4 separate regions of the Homo sapiens genome follow, and regions 2, 3 and 4 are each linked to region 1. The links are contacts of gene promoters, found by promoter capture Hi-C in blood cells and fetal thymus (Javierre and others, 2016). All regions are on one chromosome and are shown on one strand. The core of a region is centred on a gene start or on the middle of the fragment in contact, and the rest is flanking DNA. Distances in the headings are between cores, read along the strand shown. Region 1 holds the start of NTMT2 (N-terminal Xaa-Pro-Lys N-methyltransferase 2). Region 2 has its middle 25 kb from the start of MROH9. Region 3 overlaps PRRX1 (paired related homeobox 1). Region 4 overlaps PRRX1 (paired related homeobox 1).

Region 1 (7,833 bases), core at 2,351-4,850:
CTATGTGCCGGGAACCATGGTAAATGCTGAATAGATACAAAAGAGGAAAAAATAGGCGAGTCTTTACTCTCATGGGAATGAGAGTCCAATAGGGAAACTAATACACGCAATTGCATTCCATAAATATAAGTTATAACCTCCTGGGACAAAAACCAAAGTTTAAATGAGTGAATCAAGGATTAAGGGAAGCCTTCTAATTGAATAAAAGTCACACTGGCAGATAAGACTTACATGCAGATTCCTTTCTGAACATTTGGCTTCTGCCATTAGAGGAAAAAGCTACAAAAAAATCTGAGTATTCACAGAACTGGTAGCCTGATTTCCCTGCACCCTTAGTTTAAAAGGATTAATACACAGTTATTTGTAGATTTGCATCCATTGTCACATTATAAAATCCTGAAGAATGGAAACTGTCTTATTAATATTTGAATCCTTTCTAATGCACAATACTTTGACAATAATGAAATTCCATAAATGTCTCTTACATTGAATATGACTGAATTGATCAGAACTAAGCATTGTCTGGTATTTTTATCTCCAAAATACAATATTTTTCCCTGTAGCAGAAACATTTTCTAGTGAACAAATATATATGTGCTCCCTTCATATTGCCCAGAATTCTTGTAGTTCTGGACAATGAATTCTAAGCAGATGTAATAGATGTCCTTTGGGGCTGAAGTTTTTAAGAGCTAGTAGACAAAACTTTGGCTGCTCTATTTGCTTGCCTGGTGACTAGTGATGTTCCAGCTGGCAAAGCCTCTATCATCCTGGATCCCTGAATGCCTGTGTGGAATATAGCCTCCCCTCCACAACTCCAATAATGCATGTTGAAAATGATGTAGCAAGAGAAAAAAATATTTTTTATGTATTCAGCTATTAAGATTCCAGAGTTAATTTGTTACTGCAGCCTATCCCAGTCCATATTGACTAACATAGCCCTAAATTTCTATCATCAAAGAGGTACTGTGGATGAGGCTAGCTCTGTGACTCTCAGGCAAACTAATGTCCAGGTCAAATCATCAGGGTCAGAGAAAATAAGCAATGCCCATTTATGGAAAGCTGCAAATAAGTAAAATGAAGGCAATGTTGGCTTGGGATAGACTAATGGTTTTCAAACTGTGTTTATGGAACCCCACAGGTATTAGAGAAGTGCCTCTGGACGGGCGGATCACGAGGTCAGGAGATCAAGACCATCCTGGCTAATACGGTGAAACCCCGTCTCTACTAAAAATAAAAAAAAAAAATAGCCGGGCATGGTAGCGGGGGACTGTAGTCCCAGCTACTCAGGAGGCTGAGGCAGGAGAATGGAGTGAACCTGGGAGGTGGAGCTTTCAGTGAGCCGAGATTGCACCACTGCACTCCAGCCTGGGCGACACAGTGAGACTCCATCTCAAAAAAAAAAAAAAAAAAAAAAAAGGAGTGCCTCAGGAGACAGTGGTAAGTCTAAGAGAATAGACCAAGGAAAGGGTCCTGCCCCCAATCCTATGCAGAAAAGTTTCCCTTTTTCCTGTATTTTACATTGGGCGTCAGTGGAATATTTTGTCAAAAACTTTGCCTTTTGATAATAATGTTTTTTTAAAAGGTCAAAACTCATTGGTAAAACATTAGCATATTTACAAAGGAGAAAAACACAAAATCAAAATGATTTTATTGAACAAAAAAAGGGATTGAGACTAAATATAAATTATAGTCCATTTGTGCCAAATTAATTTTCATCTGCTTTTCAGAAGAGACTATTGTATTCAACTTTTTAACTCATCTTCAGCTGCCTTCAAAGGTGACTTCTTTTTCTCTCTAGTAAATATTTTTAAAGTTTGACAGTCATCTGCCTGTTAGTGACTCTCTTCTCAGCTGTTGTAATTGATATCTTTCTCCAGTCTAATAAAACCAAAGCTACCAACCTACTCTTATTGAGGTATGGCCTGAAGAGTGTCTCCAGAAAAGCAATGCTTTGCCAGTATATGAAGTGACTAGAACATCATCACCTTCCATTTAAACTGCTGTATTTTTTTTTCCTTTTGGATATAGATGAGATGTATTATACGTCCTAAAAGAATTACTCATGGGCAGTGTGATCTACCAAAAAAAAGCCCTGGACTTTGGTCTTTGCTTTCATATTACTCTATCTAGATTAAATATCATCATCTCTGAATTTTACTTCCCTCCTTTGAAAAAGTAAAATGAAAGGAAGAAGGAGGGAAGATAGGTAGAAAAAAAAATGATAACTTACCCTATCTATTTCATAGTGTGACTATGAGAATCAAATAAAGTCATAGACGATAAAAAGTTTTAGAAAGAAGTTATATAAATATGAGATGAAGGTATTTGTATGTTTAGAATTAAAGATCCCTCATAAATGGATTTACAAAAAGGTTTTGGTAGGCTGCTAACATTCGGTTGCTTGAATGCAATACAAAGAATTATGTAGCTGCTTCGACAGCTGGAAACCCTGACCACATCAAGTGCACAATGGGGCTTTCAAACGACCTTAAGAAAACAGACTAGGCTGATACACAGCCTTCTTGCTTTCACTGGGGGAAAATACAAATCAAAGGGAGAAGGGTATTTTACTCTTTAATGGTAAGTTATTTCCTCTTCAGTGCTGTTTAGGGTGCCCTGAAGTAACTGCTTTCACAGAGGCTGAAAAAAGTAGAGTAGGCAAAACAGATAAGCTTTTTATTGCTCTATTGTCCAATTCTCTGAAAACTAGAGGAGATAACAAAAATGGAGACAGACCACTGACTTCTTAATATTCAAAAACCAAGCTAAAATCTCCTTTTTTTAGGCTCTCTGACTATTCTTGTGATTCAAGAAGACCGCAGAGGATTGTAAGTGTGTACACAAGCACAGACACAGAAACATACATACATAACCCAAGCACATTTTGATCTATCATTATTTAGTCTTTCTTTTTAACTCTTACTCAATGTATTAATGCATTAATACTCTCATCTTTGAATTATCAAATTTGCCCAATTACAATTTTTTGTAAATATTAAACATGTCTGAGTTTCTACAAGCCTGATACTCATGCAACAGACACCCAGAGAAGCAAATCACAGTGCCTGAGGGTGCATGGAAATCCCAAAATAAAGTCCTGACTCTATTTTAGGCACTTAATCTTTGTATTCTCCATAAAGAATTCCACTGAAACATTTCAGCCCAGTGACATTGGTTGTGGAGTTTTTTTTGTCTGAAAAGTGTCCTTGTTTTAAATTCTCTTCTAGAAGCCCCATGACCTCATGCAATCCCATCAGTCATTTCTTGTTTCTTATCTAGTAGCTCTGACTCACTTACCCAGGGGAATTTTTTCCAGCAGGTAGAGATAGCTCTGAAAGAAGTCATTGCGAATGGCTTTGTGAAGGATAAAAGACATGCTATGTCTACAGAGTTCATCGTCGGTCTTCTGCCAGCGGGATCTAAAGGCAAAATGGGCTCCCCGGTGGGCCATGACAAAGGGGGATAATAATGATTCCTACAGAGAAAGGAAGCTTGCCTTGCTGTTTCTTTGAATTAGCCTTCTCTTTCTAAATGAACTTGAGACTGTCATTTTAAACCAGTCCCCTCTCCATCTATATCAGGACAGGCTGTCATGGGTGTGGGGAGGAGGGGCAGCACACAGTGGGAGGGGAGGGCAGGCTCTTGGCACGTCCCTCCGTCTGATTGCTTGGGTGACACCACTCCAAGCCAGCAGGTGCTAAGTAAGGATGAAAACTGGCTGAGAGAGATCCTGCTTCATCCAGGAAAAAGCACGCCTCTCTCCTTTAGCCACCACTTCAAACAGGCAAGAGCACAGCCTGCTAACACCCTGAATATTTGCCTTAATTTGATTTCTAAATTGGAATAGCCTAATTTCCATTTCAAAGAGTTGTGAATATTTTGCAAGAGATCTTGTTCCCTGATTTCCATCACTCCTCGTAGAACACTGAATCCTCAAATTACAAGGACCCTTCAAAGTCATCTTAGCCACTCATGCTCCTTTCATCAGTACAATTTCTCCCAAATAATTTCATAGAAATGTGTATGTGTTTCCTATTTTGAAGGATCTTCAAGAGAAGCAATTATTTGAAAGCTTGTTTTGACGTTAAATATCCTTCTCTGTCAGCAAACTCTTCCATCTAGCTTGCTGTAAACAACAACTATTCATGTAAGCCTGTTTCTTCCTCTCTGCCTACTCTGAATATAATTTTCCTCTTAAGTACATTTGTTTTCTGTACCGGGTATCTTCTGATTGTCCCTCCGGATACACTCTCCACTCTTCATACATTACTATGTGTTCCCCAGGAGGCTGACCTACATCAGTGGACTCCATTGCCCTCTAGCTTCTAGTTGGCTTTAGCCAATGGATAGTGCCAGGAGGAGACAGGAGGAAAGTGAGGTCAAGGTATTTATTCCCTTGGCACCTTCTCTGTGGAAATGCCATGAGCTGACCATATCCTTTAACAAAAGGTCATACGTCTGACCAGGGTCTTCTCATACAAATATCCTCTCCTGGTTCTGTTCATTTCTCCTTCACCTGACTGCTTGAGGCCCAGGGGGAGTGATGTATCAGGTGACAAGCCCAATTCCTTGTAATTTTCCTATACTTGCCCACATATTTGTAAATAGTCCCTTTATTAAACCAGTTCGAATTCCCAATTTGTGAATTCCATCTGTTCCCTACAGGGACCATGACTACTGTTTTCCTCCCCTTATGTTCCTAACAGGAAAATGTGTAAGATCTCAATACACTATTGGCCCTATGCCATGTGCACCCACAGACCCCCTGCCTGTACATATACACATGCTAATATACACAAATGCACACATTATGGTAGGCAACTTCTAATGTGACCCCTGTCTTAGTTCAGGCTGCTCTAACGTATTACCAAAGACTATGTGGCTTAAACAACAAACATTTATTTCTCACAGTTCTGGAAGCTGTGAAGTCAAAGATCAAGGTGCTGGCAGATCCCATGTCTAGTGAGGGCCCTCTGTCTGGTTTGCAGATTGCCCTCTTCTCATTGTGTGCTCACATGGCAGAGAGTTAAATCAAGCTCTTGTGTCTTTTCTTATAAGGGCACTTATCCCCTTCATAAGGGCTCCACCCTCATGACCTAATTATCTCCCAAAGGCCCCCATCTCCAAATCCCAACACATTAGGGCTCAGAATTTCAACATAAAAATTTTGATGGAACACAAACATTCAGTCCACAGCAGTCCATAAGAATCCCCATCTTCTTTCTTCCTGGTATTCACCTCTTCCTGTAATCCTCTTTTTTTGAGTATAGGCTGGACTTAAGGACTCACCGCTGAAGAATAAAATATGGTGAAAGTGATGAGATGTCACTTTTAAGAAGAGGTTATTAAAAGATTGTCTTAGGTGTCTTCTTTCTCTCACTTGCTTGTTTGCCATGTGGGAAGACTGCTGCCTATTGTGAGTGGCCATGTGGAGAGGCCTGCATGTCAAGGAGCTGAAGTCCTAGGTCAAACAGCCCAGAAGACACTGAAATCCACTAACAACAGTGTAAGTGAGCTTGGAAGCGAATCCTTCCCCAATTAACGGTTTGGCTGCAACTTGATGGGAGACCCTAAGTCAGTTATGTCATACCCAGGTTACTAATCCACAGAAATGTGTTTATTATTTTAAGCAACTAAGTTTGGGGATTATTTGTTACAATGCCACAAGATACAATGAATTCATACATTGTCCATGAATTTTTTTTTTTTTTTTTTGAGACAGGGTCACGCTCTGTCACCCAGGCTGGAGTGCAGGGGTGTGATCATGGCTCACTGCAGCCTCAATCTCCCAAGTCTCAAGCAATCCTCCCACCTGATTCTCCAGAGTAGCTAGGACTATGGGCATGCATCAGCACATCTGGATTTTTTTTTAATTTTTTTTTTTATCTGTAGAGACGGGGTCTCGTTATGTTGCCCAGGCTTGTCTCAAACCCCTAGCCTCAAGCAATCTTCCCGTCTAAGTCTTCCAAAGTGCTGAGATTATAGGCATGAGCCAGTAAGCCCAGCCAGAATTTTTTGAAGATAAACAATGTAGCCATAATCTTTTTTTAAGTTTTATTTGTGTGTCAATCTTTTACTGAGAGAGGAAGTAAGGATTCCAATTATTTGACTCTGATTTATTTTCCCTCATCTTCTTGTGCTTCTGTTTTGCCATTTTCTCCCTCTCCAGGTAAAGGGACAGCCATTCAATTTTGGTGGAATTGTCCCCATCCTTGGCTTCAGTAATTGCCCAAACTGCAGTTCAAGTTATCCATTTTGCCCCTCCCACAGTTTGTGGTACACAGATGGGTATATCATCCACGCCTGAGCTGGTCAGTACATAATGTTACCCTGGTTCCAGTTTTCCTTTTTGAGTGGGCACATTATCTAAGTCTGTTATTGTTAATGCCAGCTTGAGTTGAGTTTTCTGTACTAGCAACATGGAGTTTTGTCTAATACAAATACCATCCTGAATCATTTTTACTCAATGAATTCTCATGAAGATGAAGATAGAGTAGATGACATCAAACAGACCAAAGAAACTTCTGGTGTGATTATTTCATGGTATTAAGAAGGAAGGGTCTTACCTGGAATTAAGCAGATATGACTGAGTTAGGAATTCATTGCCACCACTTATATATGGGGTTACCTCAACTAACTGATTTCTTAGTCTCTCTGAGCCTCACTTTAATCTTCTTTAATATAAAAATGATGATAATAGTATATGTCTTACTTTATTATTGTGAGGGCAAGATGAAATAATCCATGTAAAATACCACAGTGCCTAATACACAGTACATGTTCAGTTATTATCATCAGTTAACTATTATCATTACAATCCTTTGGAGTAAGCTAATAATAAGTTATAGGTCCTCAAAATACATGATGTCTATCTGGTTCTTCTTCTGTTGTATTTAAGTAATTCTAACACATATCCAGATTATTTGTACTTAATGCATTTAAGAATTGAAAAGAAATCCAAATGAAATGTGTTGTTAGAGCTCATTCATCCATCCTTTGGAATTTTTTGTTGCTGTAGTAAAATAAATTAAGTAAAAGAAGAAAAACATGAAGGGATTCTCTTTTGTTACTTATATTCATCAATACGTTTAACAAGAGGTGTGTTCTTAACCCCATCTCAGTGATGTTTTGATGACCCCTCCTATGCTTAAAAGGTCAGGATGTTTGGTGCTGGGAGAGAGACTGGCAATCACTGGCTCAAGACGCTCAGTATTGCTTATTTGGCAATTGATATTAGCAAGTTTCTCAGTTTTTACAGAACTAATTTTCTTCCACTATAAAATGAACATTAATTATTTGTGTTTGAATGAGGATTATTAAGTGTTCTAAGATTCTATATTTCATACCCATAATTCTTGAGTGGGGTGAAAGACTGATTGGTTTCTACAAAATGCCTTTGTCAAGTTTTGTTTATCTCTGTAGGTCACATTGGATTTTGTGACTGTTTCTCATACTGGTATAGCTCGAACCAATTTCTGGCTCATTGCGTTTGTTTCCTTATGCCAATATTTTTTCTCTCAGAGCTGCAATGCTCTATTTGCTACCACCTCACACCATTCTTGGCTATGTTCATACTCAGTAAATGAGGTTATGATATAGATCTCAAGTCTACCAGTCATCAATTTCCAGGCAGGAAAGAAAAACAATGAATGCAGAAGAAAGAAATATGACTCCAGCAAGAGAAGGTAGAAACTCTGAATTTATCCATTTTGGTTTTCCATCTCACAGGGGATCCCTTGGTGGGCGGGGGGTAACTACTGTTAAAAAGTAAATTATCATGAAGAGAGAGTCAGAAGTAAGGAAAACAAAGAAAGAAAAAATGCCATATAAAAA
Region 2 (7,833 bases), core at 2,868-5,367, 760 kb before region 1:
AACACGGTGAAACCCCGTCTCTACTAAAAATACAAAAAATTAGCCGGGCGTGGTGGCAGGCGCCTGTAGTCCCAGCTGCTGGGGAGGGTGAGGCAGGAAAATGGCGTGAACCCGGGAGGGGGAGCTTGTAGTGAGCCGAGATCGTGCCACTGCACTCCAGCTTGGGCGACAAAGTGAGACTCCATCTCAAAAAAAAAAAAAAAAAGTTTGAGAGGGTCTCAAATGTGAAGTTTCCATGTCCTCTGGATGTATCATCCTCCTGACACATCATTGTGTATTGCCAACTAGGAATCTCACTTGACCATCATTGTCTAGAGTTTTTATTGGGGGTTTTATTTCATAGATAGAATCATTGACTATACGATTAAACTCATTCTCTAACACCCTTCCCTCCTTGGAAGTCAAGCTGATATCATGTGGCTCAAAGCTCCAACACTCTAATGACTTGGTTAGTGTTTCTGGTATGGCCAGCCCCCATCCTGAAACTATCTAGGAGCCCACCATGAGTCATCTCATTGGCATAAACTCAATGTGGTCTCAGGTGCTCACCAGGGATAACAAATACACTTTTGTCACTTGGGAAATTTCAAGGGTTTAGAAGACCCTTTCCAGAAACCAAGGTCAAAGGCCAGACATATTTTTTATTATACAACATTCAATCTGAACCATTGCAGCCCAATTGAAATTATATAGGGAAGTAGTGATGCATAGAAGGGAATGATAGGGTTTCATTACAGCTTGAGTGTGCCCTGTTTAAACAAAATCTGATGTATGAAAGTCAGATTTATAAAACAAAGTTATTCTAACAATAAAGAGAAATTATAAAGTAATCATATGATAGATGGCATAATATGTAGTTAGTAAATTGGTGCTCAAAAAAGGTTAAAGGCATGAGAAAAGTACTTAGATAATATTAAGATATACTCTGTATAGAGAGATCAAACAAGAGCAAAAATAGAGTGAAAGAATATTAGCAGTGACTATAGTTGGCAAGTGGTAGAAAAGAGTGAAGGAGGAGAAGCTGTAGGGAATGACCTCTTCAGGAGACTCTAGGTCCTGTGTTCATCTGGTAAGCCCTGGTGGCAGCAGGCTTCAATGTCTACATAGCTGTGAGTTTAACATGGCGAAGCTTTGTGTCCTCCCCTATATATCAGTATCAGATAGAAAATAAAGCTTCTACCTGGCCTACTTGAAGGCAATGATTATAAAAAAAATGACTATTTTATGTTTTTATTTCCATTGACTGTTTAACTGGTTTAATGAGAGAGAAATTTTATCATATTTTATGATTTCTTTTTCTTATATCAGTTTTTATTTGAATATTTCCCAAATTTTCTACTGTAAATGTGTATTTTTCTCTAATAAAAAAAATCCATAACATACAAAATGGTAACATGGGATTAAGATGTTTTATTGACCTATTTTCCCCTTGTTCTTATAGAAAAAATATAAAATGACTGCTATATTTTCTACAAGAAAAATTCTTTACGTTTATAAAAGCACCAGTAAAATGTTTAAAAAATAGAAAGTAATTACAAGGTTGACAAAGTTTCAACTTAGAATTCCCTTCAAAACCAAGCATTTTAAATGAATATTAAATGTGTCGATGTGCAAAAATGTACTTTTCATTTGATTCACACACCTGTTGTATCATACTACATACATTTGCATTCAAAATTTTATTATTTGCTACATTACTTTGGGAGTAAATTTTCCCACAATTCTGAGGCTGGTAGTAGAGTTGCTACTCAATGCTGTTAAATTAAAGCTACAGAGTTTACATTTCTTTGAAATGTTAAAGTACAATTCTAAAATAAGGAATTGTTATTCTTATATACTGGACAAGAACACGGAGTCCTTTCCAAAATTTGTCCAGTGAAATATTGTCAAATCAAGATTACTGCATAGTAGAGAGGAAATAAAATCGTGAGAAATCAAAATGCATTTTCCATGTTTCAGATGCAAAATCCTTTTATAATTTTAAATTTAATCTTTTATTCTATGTTAGGTTTTTGTTAACTTTATTCCTTCATTTTACCACTGAACTGCAATGATTAGCTTTATAGCATATCCCTAAGATCAACTCCCTTAAGTATCTTTCATTAAGTTACTTTTGACACAACTTAAGTAGAAATTAAGACTCTTTCATTTTTAGAACCTAAGCTAAAACTTTTTTCCTTGCCTATCTCCTGTACTCTTTCCTTATTATACCTTTATTTCAAATCCTATTTTGTCAGAATGAATATACAAGGGTCATTGTATAAGGCAGCAGTTTTCAGAGTGTCATCAGCACATCCCTGGAGGTCCTTGCAACTCTATCAGGAGGTCCATGAGGTCAAAACTGTTTTAATAATAATGCACCGATGATGCAAAACCATTGTTGGATAAAACTGCTAGTCCTTCAGCATGAATCGACATAGGGCACCAAACTGTACTAGTAGTCACCACATTATCCACTGCCGCATACATACAGTAAAAACAAAACAAAAACAAAAACAAAACCCACCAAAACCTCCCCAAAACCTAACCAAACAAAACAAGCAAAGTCAGCAAATGAATTTTTAAATATTCTATATAATGAACTGAGAAATACATATAAAGTACTTCTGCTACATGGAGAAATATGCTAGTTTCATATTTTCAAGGAAAAGCACTTGTGTGAGTATTTGAATTGTGAGCTGAACAGACCACTCTATAAACTCTTTTTTATTATTTGAATGAAGCAATGACAGACTACAGTTATTCAGACTTGGGTATTTGGCAGACATTTTCTCAAAAATGAATGATATGAGTCTGTCACTTCAGGGAAAATAAGTATCTGTTGCCAATGATAAAACTGAAGTTTTCAAGAGAAAATTAGAATCTTGGAAAATGTTATCCACCACCATGAGTTTGACAGCTTCCCAATACTGAAAAACTTTTCTGATGAAATTGGCAGTGATATTAATAACTGTGATTTTGCGTCAGCATTTGGAAGATCTGCATAACTTGGTAAACCAGTATGTTCCAAATTACCAACGTATAATGTTACAAAATCAGACATGAGTGAAAGGTCTCCTCAAAGTGCAAGACAGACAAGTGGATTTTAATGTAACAGAGCATGCAAAGTTTATAGGTATAGTTTGAGATTGCACATTGCAACAAACCTTTTATAAATTATTGCTTATCAAATTTTATCGTAGTAGCAAAGAATAGTGACAAATGTCTGAAAGGATATGTAGAGAGACATGATGTCAAGAGAGACTGTAAATAGTTCAATCATTGCTAGAACAATGGTTCTCTTGCAAGCATATTTGCCATTGGGAAACGTTTATAAGACAGTAAAATCTTTTGAAATTGCTGCTTAGTTTAGAAAATGCTTCGCTGTGTGCCAGTGGTCTCTATGAGTAGTAACTGCTTCATAGTTTTCTTTCCCATCAACAATTTACAGGGTGAGGAGACATGAAAAGGGTTTCATAGACCTTTGTAAAGGCCCATTTTAATCAATAGCACCTTTGAAAAACAATGTTTTGAATAATAGCTTCGATTTTGAATTCCTTGTAAACATTTCTGTAATTCAGCCGCTGAAATCTCCCAAGAACAACTTTTAAGACAGAGGTTTGAATATGACTTTGAAATATTCTTTACCTCCCAAATGCCTCACAGATTAAAGCTTTGTTCTTGGCAATGCAAGAAATTTACAGTCCTTCTTGAAAACTGTTGCTGGGAAAGAATATGCTTACTTTGGATGTTCCTTGTGAACAGTTAGGACACTCAAATAAAACAAATATTGCCTTAGTTTCAAGGCAAATCAATGATATTTTCAGATACCTCCAAACAGACCTCAGAAATGATCTGTGTCACTGTCATTACTGAGTTCTTGGAGTGACCATACAGATAGGTCTCAACAGCCATGAAGGGTCAAATAAGGGAGACAACCAGAGTCCTAGAGGCTTATAGGCCTTACTGCCTACAGTTTGACCTCCAAAATCCTTTGGAAACTTGACCTTGCAAAACAGGATGAATGATGAAGAATGACTCAATTTCCTGCTAGCCAGGGAGTGATGCTCTGGTTGTCTGCTTCAACCCTTGTCAACCCCACTGCACAGATTTCTTTCTATGTTTCTCAATTTTTAGAACCACTTTACAAATCTCAAAATAAGATGCCTTGCAATTATAGTCATAATTGGTTTCATGAATGAATGTAATTTCCCCACAGATGCAATGCTGAGATATGAGACACATCACTTGTCTTACTGGAACCTTGAGATCTGGGTTCTGGGGACCATTTAATTGCCAAATGTATAATTTTTAGCAAATTACTTGACTTCTCTGGACTCAAGTCTCTCTTCAGTAAAAGAAAGAGATAAAGTAGATTAGTTTAGTTACAAAGTTCCATAATTTATGAAAACTGCCTGTGATAGAAAGAGGTTGATAAATACCTCCACATAAACCCACTCTTCCCACCCTTGCAGACCTAAGTGTAAGTTATTTTTTGCTGTGTCCACATTTGGTCTCAAAATCATATTCTTCTCAAGACTCTAGGAAGCTACTACCAAGTGATTGAAGTTGGCACAAAGAAAAGTCTTCCAGTTAAGCTTTAAAACTAATTGCTAATTAGGATAACTTTGCTTTTAAATAGCTAACATGTATTAGCACATACTGTTTATCTCTCACTGTTCTAAATGCTTTATATGTATTAATTCCCCGAATCTTGGCAAGTTTGTTAGCCAAGTACCATTATTATCCCCATCGTACAGATGAGGAAACTGAGGCACAAGAAGATTTATTAGTCACCATAGTCCCTCAGCTGGTAAGTAGTAGAGTTGGAATTTAATCTCAGGCAGTTGATTCCAGAGCTATATTCTGAATCACAACACTGTACTTTGTTCAATCTTCATTTCTGCCTGTTTTTTCCTTCTTTTTACATTGTTTATTATGGAAACATTAAAACATATATGAAAGTAACAAGAACATTATAATACATCTACGTATACCTACCAACCCATCTCAATAATTATCAAACATGACCAAACATAATTTATCTATACATCCCTTAATTACCTTCAGTTAGATTATTTTGAAACAAATCCTACATATCATTCATCCACAAATCTTCAGTGTGTGTCTCTAAAAGATTTCCACCACTATTATCACACCTAAAACAATAGACAAGTAATTCCTTAATTTGATCAAATATTCAGCCAGTATTCAAACTTTCCTGATTATCTTATTTTTGTATTTGTTTTGTTTTACAGTTTGTTCAAATCAGAATCCAGAAGTGTTTACACATTGCCTTTGGTTGATGTGTCTTTTAAGGATCTTTTAAACTACAGGTTTCTTCTTCCTCTTTTTTCCCCTTGACATATACTTGTGGAGGAAACTGAGCTGTTTATTCTGAGGAAAAAAATCTTTAGAATTTCCCATAGTCTGGACTTTGTTATTGCATTCTGCAGTGTCACTAACATGTTCCTCTATGCCCTGTAGCGTCTATAAACCAGAAATTTGATCTAGAGGCTTTATAAGATGTATTTTGGCAAAAATACTTCACAGATAATGTTGTGAATGTTCTAATACATCACACTAGTACTCACAAAATGTCAAATTGTTACTATTTTTTGTGATATTAAGATCAGTGGGTTCAGGTACTATCAGCCTGAGCCATCTACTATAATGTTCTCCATCAATTTTTCATCTAATTATTTTAGTATGTATTGATGATCACTGTTTACCTCCAGTATTTTATTATAGTTTGAAAAATGGTGATTTCTAATTATGTGATTTCCTTCTTCATTTGTTAGCTAAGATTCTGATTCAAGAAAAATCTTTATGGACAATTTAGCTCAAAATAGAGATAATACATCTTTCTACTTATTGTTACCTATGTGATTGAAGCAATGTACAGTCTAAATAAGCCAAAATAAAATGTATCTGTTCAACTTTGGAAAAGGTAAATAATAAGTTAAAGAGAACATTGAAATGCTGTAATTTATATGCCAATCTTTTAATAGCTCATTAGCAATTATATGAAAGATGGTTAGCTTAATTTTCATATTAATTTTTATCTTATATTTCTATTCTAATTTGAACTGTTTTACTTATTTACATGTTCAAGAAATGTGTATTGAAACCTCAGTATGTGCAAGGCACTCTGCTAATCAGTGGCTATAGAACACGAAACCAAATAGTGCTTGCCCTCTCTGAGCTCCCAGTTCAGTGGGAAAGAGAAATAATAAATACACAAATACCACATAAATACTGTTACATGTTATTCACACATCATTTACATCCCACATTTATTACATTTATACAGCTTTCATACATTATGGTGCTATGAGAGCATATAACAGAGAAATCTCAGAGGTTAGTGGTTAATGAAGGAGTCTATCATAGATCTTTCCTTCTTTAAAATCTCTATTTCTAAATTCTAAACTATTTAGGCAGACACTAAAGCCTTGATTATTCATGAAACTCACAAAATGATTAGCTAAACTGCAGTAACTTTACTGAAACTTGCTAGAGAACGCTATTTCTCCTTATCTTTATGGTTATTATATTTTCCCAGAGTATTTAATGGTTAGCAAAATGTCACTTGATCTTGATTGAAATATTGAAATAAACAGTGCAAATATGATTAAATGACAGTGACTGATATGTCTTTTTAACATTCTGTGTAAGGAAATGGAAGCAACTGTACAACCCTGCTCTTACGCACTGAAGTTCCCTGGCTGTTAAGTCAACACTGGCAATGTGAGATTTTGAAATGAGGAATTATATTAAAACTTTCCTATTGATGCTGGAAATTTCATTTGACCAATTATATAATTTCCAGTGACTTGCTTAGGCAATATATTTCAACAACATATGCAGCATTTATATAGAGTGGCCTGTTAGTTTGGGGCCAAAATATTACCATTTTTATTACTGAGAATAGGATATCAGGATTTTAAAAAAGAAGACTGAACTGATATCACAGAGATCTTTACTTTTCCCTTCAATTTGAGAATTTCCTTTTCTTATTGGACAAAGAAATGGATAGTGTGTTATTGATGAGGAAGTATGTATTATTGATGAGTATTGAGTAATACTCATCAAAACAAAACAAAGGAAAGCAAAGCAAAGCGAAACAAAACAACACATGCAAGAGAGAACTAGGAAATGCTTTCCACAGTCAAAACTTTTTTAAAGGCTGGATTAGAAAACCATTTGCCTTTGGCTGGGCGCGGCGCCTCACGCCTGTAATCCCAGCACTTTGGGAAGCCGAGGCGGGTGGATCACGAGGTCAGGAGATCCAGACCATCCTGGCTAACACGGTGAAACCCAGTCTCTACTAAAAATACAAAAAATTAGCCGGGTGTGGTGGCGGGCACCTGTAGTCCCAGCTATTCGGGAGGCTGAGGCGGGAGAATGGCGTGAACCCGGGAGGCAGAGCTTGCAGTGAGCCGAGATCGCGCCACTGCACTCCAGCCTGGGCGACAGAGCGAGACTCCGTCCCCGCCCCCCCAAAAAAAAAAAAGAAAGAAAACCATTTGCCCTAATATCTGAAGTTGAGGTATTTTTTCTTCCATACTTCAAGTGAGAGAAACTAGTCAACTTGGGAACTGTCACAGTATTGAATTCTTCAGTGAGAAATCTTAAGAGTTCCTGGGTCCAAGTTGAATATGAATCTGACAGAGTCAACAGACTCATCTGTTCCCAACAATCTGTAATTGTGAGTTGAATTTTTTCTAATTTAGTAAACAAAAACAGGGAGAAAAGAAGTGGTACAAGGATGCTTCGTGCTTATGGAGCATACACTATGAACCCAGCAATCTTGGCACCTTGCATGCATTGTGTCATTTAATCTGTGCAATA
Region 3 (7,833 bases), core at 1,361-3,860, 580 kb before region 1:
AAGTTCTTTGTGTCAGTGACCAAGAAACCACATTACTGAATAAAGTGCATTGAGAAATTAGAGATTAATAATAAATGCTTGCACCCCATCTGTTGATTCAGCTAATCTGCCCTGAGACTTACACAGAGCTGACACATTTAAATCAGCTTCAAATGTTTCCATTTACTTGTTTGGAGATTCCTAACAGATGCAACACAGCCATAGAGAGCAGAATGCTAACCACTAGCAGAGGTGGAGTACTGTTTTCACTGGGACAAATCATTTTTTATCATTTCAACCTACCCTGAAAGTTGTGAGGAAAAAAAAATGTGTTAAAATGATTGTCAAACATTGAGGAAGTATGGAAAATACTATTCGTACTACGATTTTAAAGCCAGGAAACGTATGGACAACTGCCCCTCTGCTTTCTAAACACCTATAGTGTTAAGTCCCACAAATCACAAAACAATTGATAGCTTGGGAAAAAAATAATACCTGACTCTATTTTCAACTCTTTGTTTTCTATTTGGCCCTTTGAACAAATGATGACAAGATGTTTACAATTTCACCCTAAAGACAAATCTGTCAGCCGAGAAGTCTATGAGTTTTCCTGAAATCCTTGGGTTTCACCAGCTCAGGATTTTTTCAAAGACTGTAGGGGTTACGGTGTTCAAGACTGTGATGCATAGAAGTTGCAGAAAGTCTCGGGTTTGTTCTTTTGTCAGTGCAAGAACAACGGAGGCATACTTGCTTCACCTGATAAAATGTAATACCAGTTTTCCTAGGGAAATTTACTTTTAAAAAGAGATCTGGTAAATTCTTTGGAAAGGGATCTTTTGTGATTTAAATAACTAACTTCTATTTCTAACTTCTGTTTTGAAATTCAGAAGTTGATTTTCTAATACGTATATTTATCTCTTAAAGTGAACACACTTGCACATTTCATTGGTAAGCTTTCCGTTTGTACTGTATGTTCAGTGATCTTTCTGCTATGTTTAACTTTTCATTTTAGAAATACTTTTATATATAAAGCCTCTTGTATCTTTCTATTGTTGCAAGACTTTTTTTGAAGCGCACACTGCTTATCGATAGGTTCCAAACACCCCTGTGAAATAAGCAATAGGGAGATTATTGCTAGCTTCATGTTAGATACAAAGCTGCATAAGAGAGCAATGATCTGACTGGCCTGAGGAGCAGCAGAAGCCAGGACAAGAACGTAGTTCTTCCGAACCCCGTCCTGTAACCTACAAAGTCTCGCTATTCAAAATGTGTACCAAGTGTCAACAGCATCAGCATCACCTAGAAGCAAGTTAGAGATACACAATCCAAGCTCCAACCTGGAATTAGTGAATCAGAGTTTGCACAGTCACGCGATCCCAGATGTTTCCTGTGCACAGCAATCTCTGAAGAGCCCTGCTCTAGATTAGTATCACACTATGCTTCATTTAGTGGACATGCTTTCTTGCAGCTCTGGTTACCAATAATATTCCTCACTTGAGGACTTCACTGCTGAAATTTCTAGAACTGCAACCCCCACTTTCTTAAACACTCTGAATTCCCACTTAAACCCTACCCCAAGCAGCCACCCTCTTCCCCCTCTGACAAGTTACCTTTTCAGTGTCTTCCGTTAGAATCCGTTATGAAGCCCCTCGTGTAAACAACATCTTGGGAGGGACGAGGATCTATTTTTGAAAGTGTGAAAGGGAGAAATAAGCCAAATGCGTTCAGCAGATGTCAGGCAGCACCATGACCACGATCAAATGAGGGGAGGAGAAGGATGGGGAGGGAAGCTGTGGACAAGGATAGCTGACCTCTCTTTCACTCATCACTAGCTTTCTTTTAAGCCCAGCCCTCCCTCTGGAAATGGCACTTCAGGTAAATAATGCAAAACCAGGCCATTCACTATCCACTTCACCTAGGAAAGGATGTCTCTGAGAAAATGTTTCTTGGCTACTTCATCTCAAATAACAGTCAAAAGTTCAGGACTTGGTTGATCACTGCTACCCACGAAGCACGAAGCAAAGCACTGCAAGATTAGTGAGTCTGAATAATTCTGGTGCTTGTGTGTGCTTTCACTCTTACAAGTTGCCTAAGAAAAATAGTTCTGAGTTAAGCAATGGGTGTGTGTGCCAAAAACAAGCTTCCTTTAACTGGCCACGGATGTAAAGAAGGCACCTGCCAGGACAACAGTGTCCGTGATAGGGAATGCTTTGTCCCTCTGGTGACTCAGTTGCCTGCCTAATGTCATCACCTCTAACATGCTCAAGGGAATGAGTGAGGTCATGACAAGCTATAATTAGAGCAGACTATATGTCCCAGTTTGCTAGGGACAATCCTGGCTTATACCTGTTGTCCTAGTATAATTATTAATAATGCTCCCCTTTCACTCTAAAAAATGTCCCAGTTTGAACAATAAATTACACATCCATGACTCTGGATGTAAAAGACACCCAGAAAAAAGTATGTTGGCTATTTTCCAACCCAAAATTCTGACCATATGCAAATAACTGCTTTTATGCCTTGGTTTTCTCCTTTCTTTTTTCAGGGGATAACTGTGGAAGTCAGCAAAATATCCTTTCTGGCAAAACTGTCGCTCACTGTCTCTGGCTTGTATGACCAAGCCACGTCTATCAGTCCAATGGGATGAGGTCCCCACAGAGTGTGGACTTCAGCTGCAGGCATGCCTCACTGATCTGAGATATCTCTTGCATAAAAAGGGGATTTTAGATAGTTTTCCAATCTTATACTTTTTTTACTACTTTCAATACAATGCAAGGTTTAATTTGAATGAAAATATAGTCGTGTGGCTTAACATGTTGGATGAAAACAGGGAACACAAGCATTAGTTCTAATTCTCCTTGCTGAAGACTTAAATTTGGGCAAGTGTTTAGTCTCTTCTTTGGAAGCACAGCAAGACAGAGCTATCACACAACAGTGTTCCAAGAATTAACCAAGAGAAATGCCTTTTAATGAGTGTCACATGTGAGATAACTAACTTGACATAATAGTACCAACAAGAACAGTGAGTTAATTTTTCATAACACAAAAGTCTATCATTTCCTTTGCTTTGGATCACTTGTTTTTCTTTTTTATTTCCTTAACAATATTTCCTATCAAGCTTCAAAGTGTGAAATCATAACATAGTTTGGTTCTAAACATAGCAGAAAATTCTCCAAATAACAGAATAGCTTTTTGCTACTTTTAGAAATCAACCAAAATATAAACACTTCAGTCAACATTGGATCAAAAAACATTATTATTGATTAAATTATTGTTTTAACATCACTTTTCTGCTTATATCTGAAGATTAATTTATTCTTCATACAGAATATGAACAGATTTTATGATTTTCTAAATTAATTTTTACAAATCCAATTTCTAAGAGAGAAATGATATAAAAGCATACCAAGAAATGAGTAAAATGTACTAGGTCATATGACTTTAAGTGAAAAGAGCAGAATACAAAATAATATATACACTAAAGCTACATCTATATAAAACATTGAACTCTAATCACAAAAATGAATATACTAGTTATGTCAAGATGGTGAATTATGGATGTTTTTAAAAATGTATCCAGTATTTCTACATAATTCTTTCCATTAAAATAGAATATTTCCAAAAAAGGCACGCATAAATTGCCACGTTAATAATTTCAGTTAGATGTCCATATACTAAACACATATGATGCAGACACTGAGGCTCAAATGGCTGAGGTCCAAGTAATATAACCCTATATTAATTCAGGAATGATTTCATCCCCATTCATGCAGTGTGTGCTGTGTGACGCCTCTCACTGGTAAGGACCACGTGGCAGCCATCTGGATTGTTTATGGCTGGTATGAAAAGTTCCTATGGAGGACCCAGACAGAAAAAGGGGCAATACTTCCTGGTTGTGACCAAATTCAAACCAGAGATCTTGAAGCATCAGGCTTTGAACCACACCCATTTTCCAAGCCATTTAGCGTGTTCATGAACACACCAAATTTCTCTTATACCAATGTTTATAAGAGAAATAAAGCAGCCTTTCATTTATTTAAAATATTAGAGAATATGTGATTTTACAGTGGTCTTCAAAAAATGTATTTGTAGTAAATCTTATAGGAGAGGAGTTTAAATTTAAAATAGGGCACACAGATATAACTAATGTTTCAAGATCAGTAAGGCACACCACATCTGAGTGCAATAGGGCCCAGAATAAGACTTTCCTAGATGTAGGGTCTCTATGTGCTAAGACAAAAAGAATTCAGGCTAATTTTATAACAGGGGATTAAAACAAATTTCCAAGTGCATTTACCATGTTTCTCTAAAGGAACTGATTTGGAACAGAAAGAAACTTTTAGATGAGGCTTTTTGCTTTGATTAAAGCTAAGAACCTTTGAAAAACACTTGCATTTCAAAAATGTAGCATTTCATGTCAGAAATTCAACTTCATCTGAGACATAATCTCCTATATTTCATTTAAAACCTCTCCTTAAACCAATAATTAACCTTGACAATAAAAAGGTAAACAAAAGCATAATAAATGAATTTTTGAATAGTTCTTCCTCCACTGAAATCAGCCAGGGAGAACACGTAGGCTTGGCCTGGTTTCTCAGAGTACTCAGGTATATTTTCAAAGAAAGTCACTCTAGACTAATCCAATGGGTTAGGAATTTGTGTCTCAGCTTCCCTTCTGGCAGCCTATATTTTCTGAACAGCATAATAATGGGAGGTTAAAAGCCTCTTTATGAGATTGAAATAGTACTCTGATATTTGTTTCTTTAAAAATGTTCAACTTTTTAATATAAAAGTTTAGTGTAAATTATACATTCCTTTTTTATTTAAAAGAAACACACACAGACACACACACACACGCACACACACAAATACACACAAACTGATCCCCAGAGAAAACTTCAGACAAGTAGACAAGAATTAGCAATAGATTAGGAAGGCATTTGGCATTATAAGAAATTCACACCTACTAACAAAGAACCTTGGCCATGAAAGTGATCAGAATGAACTTGGCTTTTCTTTCCTCCTCTCTCTGTCATAGTCCCTCTCGTCTCTCTCCTTCCTTCCTTCTTTCCTTTCTTTCTTCCTTCCTTCCTTCTTCCTTTTTTTAATTCAAAGCCAGTTTTACTGCAAAGTTTGCCTTTGGCCCTATACTTGGAGTTTTACAAGTTACGTCCCTACATTTGCATAATACAACGAATTTAGCTTAAATTTGGAAACAGGGTAAAGTTTTGTTCCAGAATTGTTGCAAGAGGAACACTGGGCACAGCTTAATGATCTTTTCTTTTAGATTCTTCCTCATCTTTGAAACCTTTGCAAGAGTTCCTGAGTCCAAGAGGAGATTGGTGAGATAGCCTGCCCCTCTCACTTCTGCCCCAAACCCTGCTGCTGGGGCAGCTTATAATCTCCTGGGAAAATGTGGGGATGTCAGCAAGTTGAATGTCTCTGAAGAGATTAACCCAGTAAGAAATGTCGGTGAGCTGCACAAGCAGCTTGAAACATGACCGACCGCTGAGAAACATGTGGAAGTGGAGCAAGGGAGAGTGGGCCAGTCATTCACCTGTACGGAGACGCTGTCCCCCAGGAGAGATAATCGGTGGGTCTCGGAGCAGGACGAGGTACGATGGGCTGCTCCACAGCAGTCACGTCTCCTGAGTAGGATTTGAGGAGGGAAGCGTTTTTATTGGCTAGCATGGCTCTCTCATTCCTGCGGAACTTGGCTCTTCGGTTCTGAAACCACACCTGGAGGATTGTTAGGAGGCAAGAAGGCATAAGGAAAGAGAGGAAAAACAAAGAAGAAGGGGTTACATGAATGAAATTCTGCTTGATTTTACTATATAATGCCTTCCCAAAGAAGATATAAGATGGCTATGGAATTCTCCGTAGAACAATAGAAACATGCCATCCGCCTTCCCTCAATGAGGGCCATTCTTAAAGGTCAAGACTATTACAACAAGACCATGAAATTCTCCAGTAATCAGGTCTCCAGATATGGGATCTGTGACTTACCCACGGGACAGCAAAATATGGGTTATAATCCCTGTTACAATTGTAATCAAGAAAAGTGAAGAAAAATCTCATTAGGCTTCTGCCACAGAAATAATGACTTTTCTAAAAGCTTTTTCAAAATTCTTCAAAATGTGAAAATTTCATCTGCTTTCATAATAATTATATTTTAAGAAAATTCCCCATCTCCCAAAAGTAGATGTTCCAACAAAGATTTAAGAAGGAAATGTTTTATTTGGGAGGTGCAAAGACCACCATTTGGGGAGCAAGGAAGTAACAGAGATGAAAAGGCAACCACTAAAGGGTGTACTACTAAACCAGCTATCTCTGTGGTAGCTCAATCCTGCAGAGAACCTGAAGACTAAGACTAACGTAGAACACACACTTCAGAGTTATCCCTCTTGGAGGTGATAGAGCTGGGTGTGTGTACACTGGATCCTGTCAGTCATTGTCTATTAATGTTCCAGCACTTCTAGAATGCTGAAGGCAGGGCACTCTCCTGAAGTTCTAGGAAGAAACTGCTGGCACAGAAATGCAGGCACTGAAAGTTGGAAGCTGACCAGACTACACCTAATTGTAGGGTTCAAGGGAAATGGACAGCACTGACAGCATTTGCTACAACTAATAATAAACCTATAATTTAATTTTATTTATTTTTATTTTATTTTATAAGTTCTGGGATACGTGTGCAGGATGTGCAGGTTTGCTACATAAGTCAAACTGTCTCTGTTTGCAGATGACCTGATCCTGTATCTAGAAAACCCTATCGTCTCACCCCAAAAACTTCTTAAGCTGATAAGCAACTTCAGCAAAGTCTCAGGGTGCAAAATCAGTATGCAAAAATCACAAGTATTCCTATACACCTACAACAGAAAAGCAAAGAGCCAAATCATGAATGAACTCCCATTCACAATTGCTACAAAGAGAATAAAAAACCTGGGAATACAGCTAAGAAGAGAAGTAAAGCACCTCTTCAAGGAGAACTAAAAACCATTGCTCAAGGAAATCAGAGAGGACACAAACAAATGGAAAAACATTCTATGCTCATGGATAGGAAGAATCAATATCACAAAAATGGCTATACATCCAAAGTAATTTATAGATCTAATGCTATTCCCATCAAATTACCATTCACATTGTTCACAGAATTAGAAAAATCTACTTTAAAATTTATATAGAACGAAAAAGAGCCCGTATGGCCAAGACAATCCTCAACAAAAAGAGCAAAGCTGAAGGTATCACACTATCTGACTTCAAACTATTCTACAAGGCTACAGTAACCAAAACAGCGTGGTATTAGTACAAAAGCACACACACAGACCAATGGAACAGAATAGAGAACTCAGAAAAGACTGTACATTTACAACCATCTGATATTCATCAAGCCTGACAAAAACAAGCTATGGGGAAAGGATTCCCTATTTAATAAATGGTGCTTGGAGAACTGGCTAGCCATATGCGGAAAACTGAAACTGGACCTCTTTGTTACACCATATACAAAAATTAACTCAAGATAAATTAAAAACTTAAGTATAAAACCCCAAACTATAAAAGCTCTAGAAGAAAATACAGGCAATATCATTCAGGACATAGGCATGGGCAAAGATTTCATGATGAAAACGTCAAAAACAATTTCAACAAAAGCAAAAATTGACAAATGGGATCTAATTAAAGAGCTTCTGCACAGAAAAATAAACTATCATCAGAGTGAACAGGCAACCCACAGAATGGGAGAAGATTTTTGTAATCTATCCATCTGACAAAGGTCTAATATCCAGAATCTACAAGGAGCTTAAACAAATTTATAAGAAAAAAACAAACAATCCCATGAAAAAGTGGGCAAACGATATT
Region 4 (7,833 bases), core at 1,491-3,990, 560 kb before region 1:
TCTGCTCACTCTTTGTTGTTATTTAGCTGTTCAGTAAGATTTCTATCACAAAATAACTGGAGAGAAAGTGAGAAAGCCATTCAAATACGTTTATATGGCTCGGTCATGTTTGATGGAGAGCATAACAGAACTAGGAAACTGGAAAAATGAATAAAAGCTTTAAAATTCAGCAAGAACTGAGATATAGGGTAGACTCAAAATTGCACAAGGATATATATCATGCACAGGTGTTTGCCCCAAAAGTTCCATTTGGGGCATTTTTTTGCTATTATTCAATTCTTGGCTTTCTAAAAAGCCAACTTGCCTTCTTAAATTCAAATTTTGGAAAAAAAATCTAGAAAGCAAATAGATTCTAGTACTCAGACGGATAAGCAATTGGTACCTTTAACAAGTAGTCTCACTAGAAATTAGCTTCAGAAAAAAAGACAGGAAAGAAAAGAAAGCCAAGAGCTAAAGACAGGTTATGAAAATTCAATTATTTCCCAGCCTATTTGCTTTTGGTTAACTAATTTGGTTGCCATATGCCTAAAAACACAACAGTTGAGTCATATTACTCACTATTTATTCAGTGACTCTTTTAAAAAGAAATGTCTGATTATTTTGGTAAATTCCAAAAGGATAAGAAGAAACCAAAGTTCTGGGAAAAGAGTGAGTTCTGACTGAGATATTAGAAGCTTTCTAAACTTGCAATAATCCAGATGTGTGGTCCCCTTGGAAGTGCCTGGTATTTGACTAGGAATTTGACTAGGATTACAAACAGAGCTGAGGATGAGGCATATCCTCTTGTCTTCTTCTGCTGAGGTTTTTTTCCCTTTGCACTGAGACTGCTGTCACTTCATAAAAGAGACAACATCAATCTTGCCATTACCAGTAGAAACTAGTGTTTTCATGAGAGGCAAGCATCATATGTCACCTTTTTCAATGATTCCTTATCTTTTTGGTTATAATTTTTAATGTTCTAAAGAAAAATCTGGTAAGCACAGGTTCTAAAAAACCAAGACTGGAAGCAGACAGGAATGAAGGAGATGTACATAGTTAATGAGTAAGCTCAGCTCTTAGAAGGACAGGAGTGATGGAGCAGAGCTTCTCTGCTTAGATAGAAAGACAGCTACAAGGCATTTGAACTTATGAGAACAAAAGTATGACTTGAATTTTCTTATAATTTTTTATCTTGTGTTAAAAGGACAAGGTGCTTATAGCAGAGAAAGCCACAATAACAGAGAATTAGCTTTCCATCACAGTAAGAGATAGAACCAAAGGTAATTCTGTAACACTATATAGAATAAATGAAGAGGGCTGAAAAGGATATCAAAGTTCTTCTTGGTGTTACTCTGGTCTTGGATGTCAAATAAATCTGAAGATGAAAACATGCTAAAATGGTCAAAATAAGAAGCTTGATATTTTTAAATACTTTTTAGATGAAATAAAATTCTCTTTAAAGAACAAAAATTCAAATTTTGTTTAAAAAATAAGAAAAGTCGAAGTGTAAATAGTGGCTTAAAGCTTGACTTTTTTGAGGAAATTACCATTCTTTAACATCTGAAGCTTTCAATTTCTGTATCTGTAAAATGGGTTGTTGGCTTAGTCAGCTCAGGCTGCCAAAACAAAATACTATAGACTGGGTAGTTTAGACAACAGAAATATGTTTCAGAGGCTGGAAGCCTCAGGAAGAGGGGCTGGCCTATATGGGTTCCTGTTGAGGGCCTGCTTCCTGGCCTGCAAACAACTGCCTTCTTACTATATCCTCATATGGCAGAGAGAGCAAAAGAGAGCAAGCTTCCTGGTCTCTTCTTATAAAGACACTAATTCCATCATGAGGACTCACTCATGTGACCTCATCTAAACCTTATTACCTTTCAAAGGTCTTACTTCCAAATAGTGTCACACTGGGGGTTACGGATTCAATATATGAATTTGGGGAGGATGTAAACATTCAGTCCATGACAACTGCTTTAAGATACAAGTGATACATATATTTTTAAATGATACAAATTGTGACAACTAGCTGTACACATTTCCTTATATTTTATTGTAAAATATGTATTATGGAGCAATAGTGGAAATGGCTTTGGATTGGAAATAAGGAGACTTTGATTCTAATTCAGGGGAGTTACTGGGAAAGCCTGTGATGTTAGCCCTCAAGTGTCCTAACTGGCATAATTGTAAGTTGGGCTATGGGACTAAGATCTGTTTCAAATTCAGCATTGTGGAGTTATAGGATAGTTTTTACACTTCCAATGCCTAGCCTAATAAAAAACTTTCAATAATTGCTCATTTAGCATGATGACTGAATTATATTCTTTTGGTGGTGATGGTGTTGGTGGTGTGTTTTTTTACTTTTTTGAGAAAAAGTTAGGCTGGATTTTATCTTGCATAAGGGCTGTAATGTAATTACCAGGCCTGAGGAAAGCTTCAATGATTGACATATTCCTCCATGCCCACAGCACTCTGCAGGGATAAACTCCAGACTGAAATCAATGTGAATCTTTAGAAGACATTAGTTTACCTCTAACCACAGTCTAGAGAAAGAAGAAACCTAAGATGTTTTTTAGAATAACTATAAAGAGTTATTCTATCTTCTAAATTTACTAAAAGGAAATAAGAATAGCTACATACTTCATTTCTCTGCCATCCTTGACCTCTTAACCATGAGTCAAGTGGCGTCAGCCTTGCTGCAAACACTGCCTATATCAACCATTTTAGGGTAATCCCAAAATGGATGCCACTAACAATGGTTACATTCAATCTTGACTTTAGCATCCTCCCTATCACTTTATTCATTCATTTGAACAAATATCTATTGAGCACCTACATGCCAAGCGATGAGATGCTCTGAGTAGAGAGAAATGTTGTATGTTGTCTGCACTTCAAGATACTTACTTTCTAACTGATCTGGAGAAAGAAGTCAAAAGCACTTGACAAGTAAAGTAATAGTAGAAAAAAAAAATATTCCAGTACACTTGGTGACCATCAGAGCCAGGAACGGGCCAGGAAGGAGGACAGATATACCAAAGAGAGTGCAAGGTTAGAAAACACTGCATGGGCCTCTCTTTGTCATACCTGAAGCTTAGCATCCTTTTCTCAGCTGATCTATTATTTCTCACCCAATCACTCCACTCTAGTTGTACTGCTAATGGTGATAAAAACATAATTTTCTTGTCCTTTTCATTTATACTTTTCTCTGACCTTGTCTTTCTTTGCCTAATAACACATCACAGACCTTACCCATACCTACTAACTTTTACATTAATGGCCCCTTCTCCTTTCCTAAGTCTCAGCTGACCTGTCAGTTCTTTGTAGGAACCTTCTGTGATCAACAACCAGAAGTAGTCTTCTCACTATTCTTCATCCAGCATCTTAACCATTTGCTTTATAACACTTATGACAGTCTGTAATTATTTATGTTGATTGTCTCACACTAGAATATAGCTTCATGAGGGTAGGCACCTTACCTGACTTGTTAACTGTGCTATCCCGGCACCTGACATTAGTCTTCCATATTTTGGGTACTTCTCTTAGAATTATTAAATTAATATGTTAGACTCTGCTTGGTGAAAGTGCCTACTCTGAACAACCTGGTCCATTCACACTCAGCCACCAAACCTGACCACTCTTTCAGGGATCAGTTTCTGTAATAAGGTCTTGACACACAAAATTTCCTGCTTACTGCATTTTTGTAAGGCATGTAAATTCCAGGATCAAGTGTTATGCAGGTTTCTCATGCACTTTCTCAGTGAATGACTTTGCAGCAGTAATTATTCTGATTAGAAAGTAAGCCTTGAAGGCAGGTGAACAAAGTGTGTAGAATAGAGCCCTAAACCTTTTAGTAGTGCTCAGTAAATGTTTGACTTTGATAATGATGATACATATGGAATTATTGACCATCTTGCTCCTAGAAAAGACAAAGGAAGTCTCAAAAGGCTTGACCTGATACAGTTATTTCTATGTTCCAAAAAACATATTTAGCTTGAGGTTGTATTTTCTTCTAGTTAGTCATTTCCAGTCACCGTGTTTTCTGTTCCCTTTCTCTGGCAAAGGAGCTTGGGCAAAAGCCTGGCTAATTCATTCTCCAATATACAGGAACATTACGGCCTGTCAACCACACCTAAGCCTTAATTATATGGTGATTTCCTCTCCAAGGATATGCGACTGTTTTAACTAGTAAGGAAGCCGATGCACTAAGGTCATATGAGAAAAAAAAAAGTTACATTTGGGTAAAACACCCAAAAATTCATGTGGAATAATCTTATTCCATTGAATCATGTCCCCTGTTGTTGAACAGCCCTAAAGAAGTCCTTGTTAATAGTCATTCTGTCTGCCTGGAGTGGAAATCTATGAGTAATCTGTGTGTCACTGTGACTCATGTCGTGACCAGCACTTCCAAATCCTCATCATCTGAAATCTGGCAAGAAGAATTTACACTGCTCAACTCATAACAGGAAGAAAGTAGGATGAAGGAAAGACCTAAGAAAAAGTTGTATTGATTAAACATAAAATGATAACCAGAAAAGGAAGATAATCAAGGTTAAGGAAGGACAATGACTCTTTAATCACCATCTGGGTCATTCTCTTCCTTGGCATCTGTTTCCAATATGACTTACATGACAATTACAGATATATTTCCTCATATAACCTTGGGTCTTTTTTCAGGTTTTCCCTATTTCTAAAAATTTTCCAATTTTTAAATTACTTTGAAAAAGGACTTTGATAGTAATATGTTGAACCAAGAACAAGGACAAACTGGATATACTAGTGTTTAATTCCACTGCAAGAGCATTTCCAACAATTGGTAAAAGTTTCATTGACAAGCCTTCTTATTTCTTTTCTTTAATCTATTTGATTAAAATGGCACAGGGTATAATTATGTGGTTAATTTACTCAGAAGTCAGCACCTTTAAAATAAAGCATCCTAGGAATAAACATGAAAATTTCATAGACTCAGGAGATTCTTATAGAAAACATATACTGGTTGGATGAGTAGATGGAAGAAAGGATTTGAGAAAATCAGATTTTATAAACACAGTGTTTGCATTAAATCAATTAAAGAAGATGTGTGCATGGTAACTGATTTGGGCAAAGGTGGGGACATTCTAAGCTACATTTTAATTTTTTTTTTTATCTGGCCAACAAGAGAGTTAAAAGGAAATATTTTCCTTTCTTGCTATTCAGCTGTGTTCTGCAGACCCCTGCTGGGCTCCTTCACTTTGTTCTATTTGGTTATTTCCATACTAGGGCTTTTTAGTTGTAGTGGTCATACTTTCCCTGATGATATCATTAAACTTATTCCTTTACTACAGATCTGTTAGTTTGAGGAGAAAGCTTCTTGACTAGAAGGATTATTACAATTTTCTTTCCTAGAGACATCCAGGTATTTTTTTTTTCTTTTTCTTTTTCCTTTTTTTAAGGACAGGGTCTCACTCTGTCACCCAGGCTGGGGTACGGTGGCATAATCACAGCTCACTCCAACCTCATTTACTGGGCTCAAGTGATCCTCCTGCCTCAGCCTCCCCAGTAGCTGGGACTGCAGTTGCACACCACCATGCCCAGCAGTCTTTTTTTTGCTAGGTTTGGGGTCTCACTATGTTGCCAAGACTAGTCTTGAACTCCTGGTCTCATGCAATCCTCCTGCCTCAGCCTCCCAAAGTGTTGAGATTACAGGTGTGAGCCACTGTGCCCTGCTGAGACTTCTGGTTTGAGCACCAGTCTCAGGTCTTCCCAAGACCAAATGGCACTAAGCTTTTCTGGCCATGAAGTGTAGGTGGTCACCAAGTGATACGAATATAGGTAACTTCTTGACCTGAGAGAACCCATTTTTTATATCAAAACTTGTCTCTAATTAATCATAGCCCCAGACCAAATTTATACAATTATAACTTTATACTCTTTCCCACATTTTCAGCAATTCAATGTTAGTAAAGTTTTTTCATAGAAATGTATGAGAAGTCAACTTTATATAATGGGGTACGGGGGAACGTCAGTGGATCAGAAGCCAGACGACATGAGTTCTCTGTCTCTGGCCCAAAAAAGTCATGTGATCTTGAGAATGTAACTTTGCCAATCTAGGTTTCTATTACTGTTGCTGTTGAAAAAGGGCATAGTATTAAATTGTTTTTAATAACTCTTTCTAATTTTAAATTACAAACTCCTCTTCAAGTACTTGACCAATAGATACATCTGTGCCTTCAAAGAGGTATATAGTAAAGAATAATATACTTAATTGCTAATTACCTCCATTTTTGGAATCTATAAATTTAACAATGGATTAACTAGACACTGTGTAATTCCATGGATATACATTCCTGTGGTCAAATCTGCAATGTCTTTGACTATTTTTAAATAACACTAGTAATGATATTTGCAGATATCAGGGTTATTTCAACATTGCATGAATGCTTATTTTCTTTTAGATAACTTTTAAAGATAATGTTCAGATTTAGCAGGTATTCAAATACTTAACAAGAGACCAAAGAAAACTGTTGAAAAACTATTTATAAAGTTCCAGAGTTTTTAAAAAATCTAACATTTAAGGGTGGGGGGCATAATTTCTCATAAAATGTTTGTGTGTGTGTGTGTGTGTGTGTGTGTGTGTGTATGTGTGTGTGTGTGTGTCTATGTGGGTATATGTGTGACTTAGCCCAGAGAACCCAAAATTGAACTGGTAACAGCAGTGCTAGAAACATGAGAACTAGAAGCAGATTCAATTGCTCACATGAGAAGGAACAACTTCTTGCAATGCAAAAGTTTTACTTGTTTGAGTTCTCTACGTAGCCCACTAAAACTGCTGAGACTTACTGTCATTACCTAGTACAGTACTAACTGTATCTGCTAGCTCACTTTGACATAGTAGTTTCTGGTAGGAGCTCCCAGACAATAGGTCACATGATATCACTGCCTGCTGAACTTAGCAGTAAACAAAAAATATATATTTTAAATAGATATTTCAGGGCCAGGAGAGGTGGCTTACACCTGTAATTCCAGCACTTTGGGATGCCAGGGCGGGTAAATCACTTGAGCCTGGGAGTTTGAGACCAGCCTGAGCAACATTGCGAAACCCTGTCTCTACAAAAATAACAAAAATTAGCTGGGTGTGGTAGCATGCTCCTGTAGTCCCAGCTACCTGGGAGGCTGAGGTGGGAGGATCACCTGAGCCCAGGTGGTTGAGGCTGCACTGAGGCCATGATTGTGCCACTGCACTCCAGCCTGGGCAACAGAGTGAGAACCTGCCAAAAATATGTATATATAATGTCTAAAATTTAAATAAACCAAGGCAGAGGATGTAAGGTTCCTAGTGAAGTGAATTGCCAGATTATGCTGGTTGACACAACCATGAGCTATATAAATGAGGTCTTAAATTGCTACGTAATGCAGACATGGAGCAGGAAAGTGGCAAAGTGGTGACAAAAAAAAAGAATGGGGTACATTTAAGGTGAATCACTAAGGATGTTCTCCCATTACATTGTGAGAGTTTATATATTGAGACCATTCCACTAGGACCCAAATAACATGTGTGCCTTTGGAACTCTTTGCAGTGTACATTTCAAAGTTCAGACCAAAGCCACTAGGTAAGTTTTATGGGTCCCTCTAGAAGAGCAGTTTCTTGTCAGGGCTGGAAAAATAATGGCACAAAGCATCCAGTAACAACAGAATCTAGGCCTGTTAGTTTGATCCCAAGATGATGCCCCTTCCAAAAGGAGAGAATCCAGAAGAAAAATTTATTCTCCAGACTGAGTGTGAAAGACTAATATTGAAGATTTGGAAATGTTTTGGGTATAGTCTATTACACACCAGGTGCAGATCTGTTGGGGAAAATCTATTTACCATTTTATTTGTTCC

The links. The method cuts DNA at HindIII sites, captures the fragments that hold promoters and counts their contacts. A CHiCAGO score of 5 or more calls a contact.
Region 2: a fragment that was not itself captured here is called in contact with the fragment with the promoter of NTMT2 in region 1 in 4 of 17 cell types (M2 macrophages, M0 macrophages, M1 macrophages and 1 more); the score reaches 10.2 in M2 macrophages.
Region 3: a fragment that was not itself captured here is called in contact with the fragment with the promoter of NTMT2 in region 1 in 1 of 17 cell types (M0 macrophages); the score reaches 6.7 in M0 macrophages.
Region 4: a contact is called between a fragment that was not itself captured here and the fragment with the promoter of NTMT2 in region 1, in 1 of 17 cell types (M2 macrophages). The highest score is 5.2, in M2 macrophages.

What each region holds. Positions count from the first base shown.
Region 1 is chr1:170,141,726-170,149,558 of GRCh38, reverse strand. NTMT2 (N-terminal Xaa-Pro-Lys N-methyltransferase 2) reads right to left here and starts at 3,600. Exons shown (of 4, transcript NM_001136107.2): 1 at 3,298-3,600. The coding sequence starts at 3,451. RefSeq lists enhancers at 2,957-3,487, 3,488-4,019. The HindIII fragment of the contact is 581 bases long and covers 3,494-4,074 here.
Region 2 is chr1:170,906,731-170,914,563 of GRCh38, reverse strand. No RefSeq gene overlaps it. Among named protein-coding and RNA genes, the nearest start is that of MROH9, 25 kb to the left of the region's middle. The HindIII fragment of the contact is 925 bases long and covers 3,655-4,579 here.
Region 3 is chr1:170,724,105-170,731,937 of GRCh38, reverse strand. PRRX1 (paired related homeobox 1) reads right to left here. Exons shown (of 4, transcript NM_022716.4): 3 at 5,537-5,718. Among named protein-coding and RNA genes, the nearest start is that of PRRX1, 64 kb to the right of the region's middle. The HindIII fragment of the contact is 978 bases long and covers 2,122-3,099 here.
Region 4 is chr1:170,704,694-170,712,526 of GRCh38, reverse strand. All of the region lies in intron 1 of PRRX1 (paired related homeobox 1), which reads right to left. Among named protein-coding and RNA genes, the nearest start is that of PRRX1, 44 kb to the right of the region's middle. The HindIII fragment of the contact is 656 bases long and covers 2,413-3,068 here.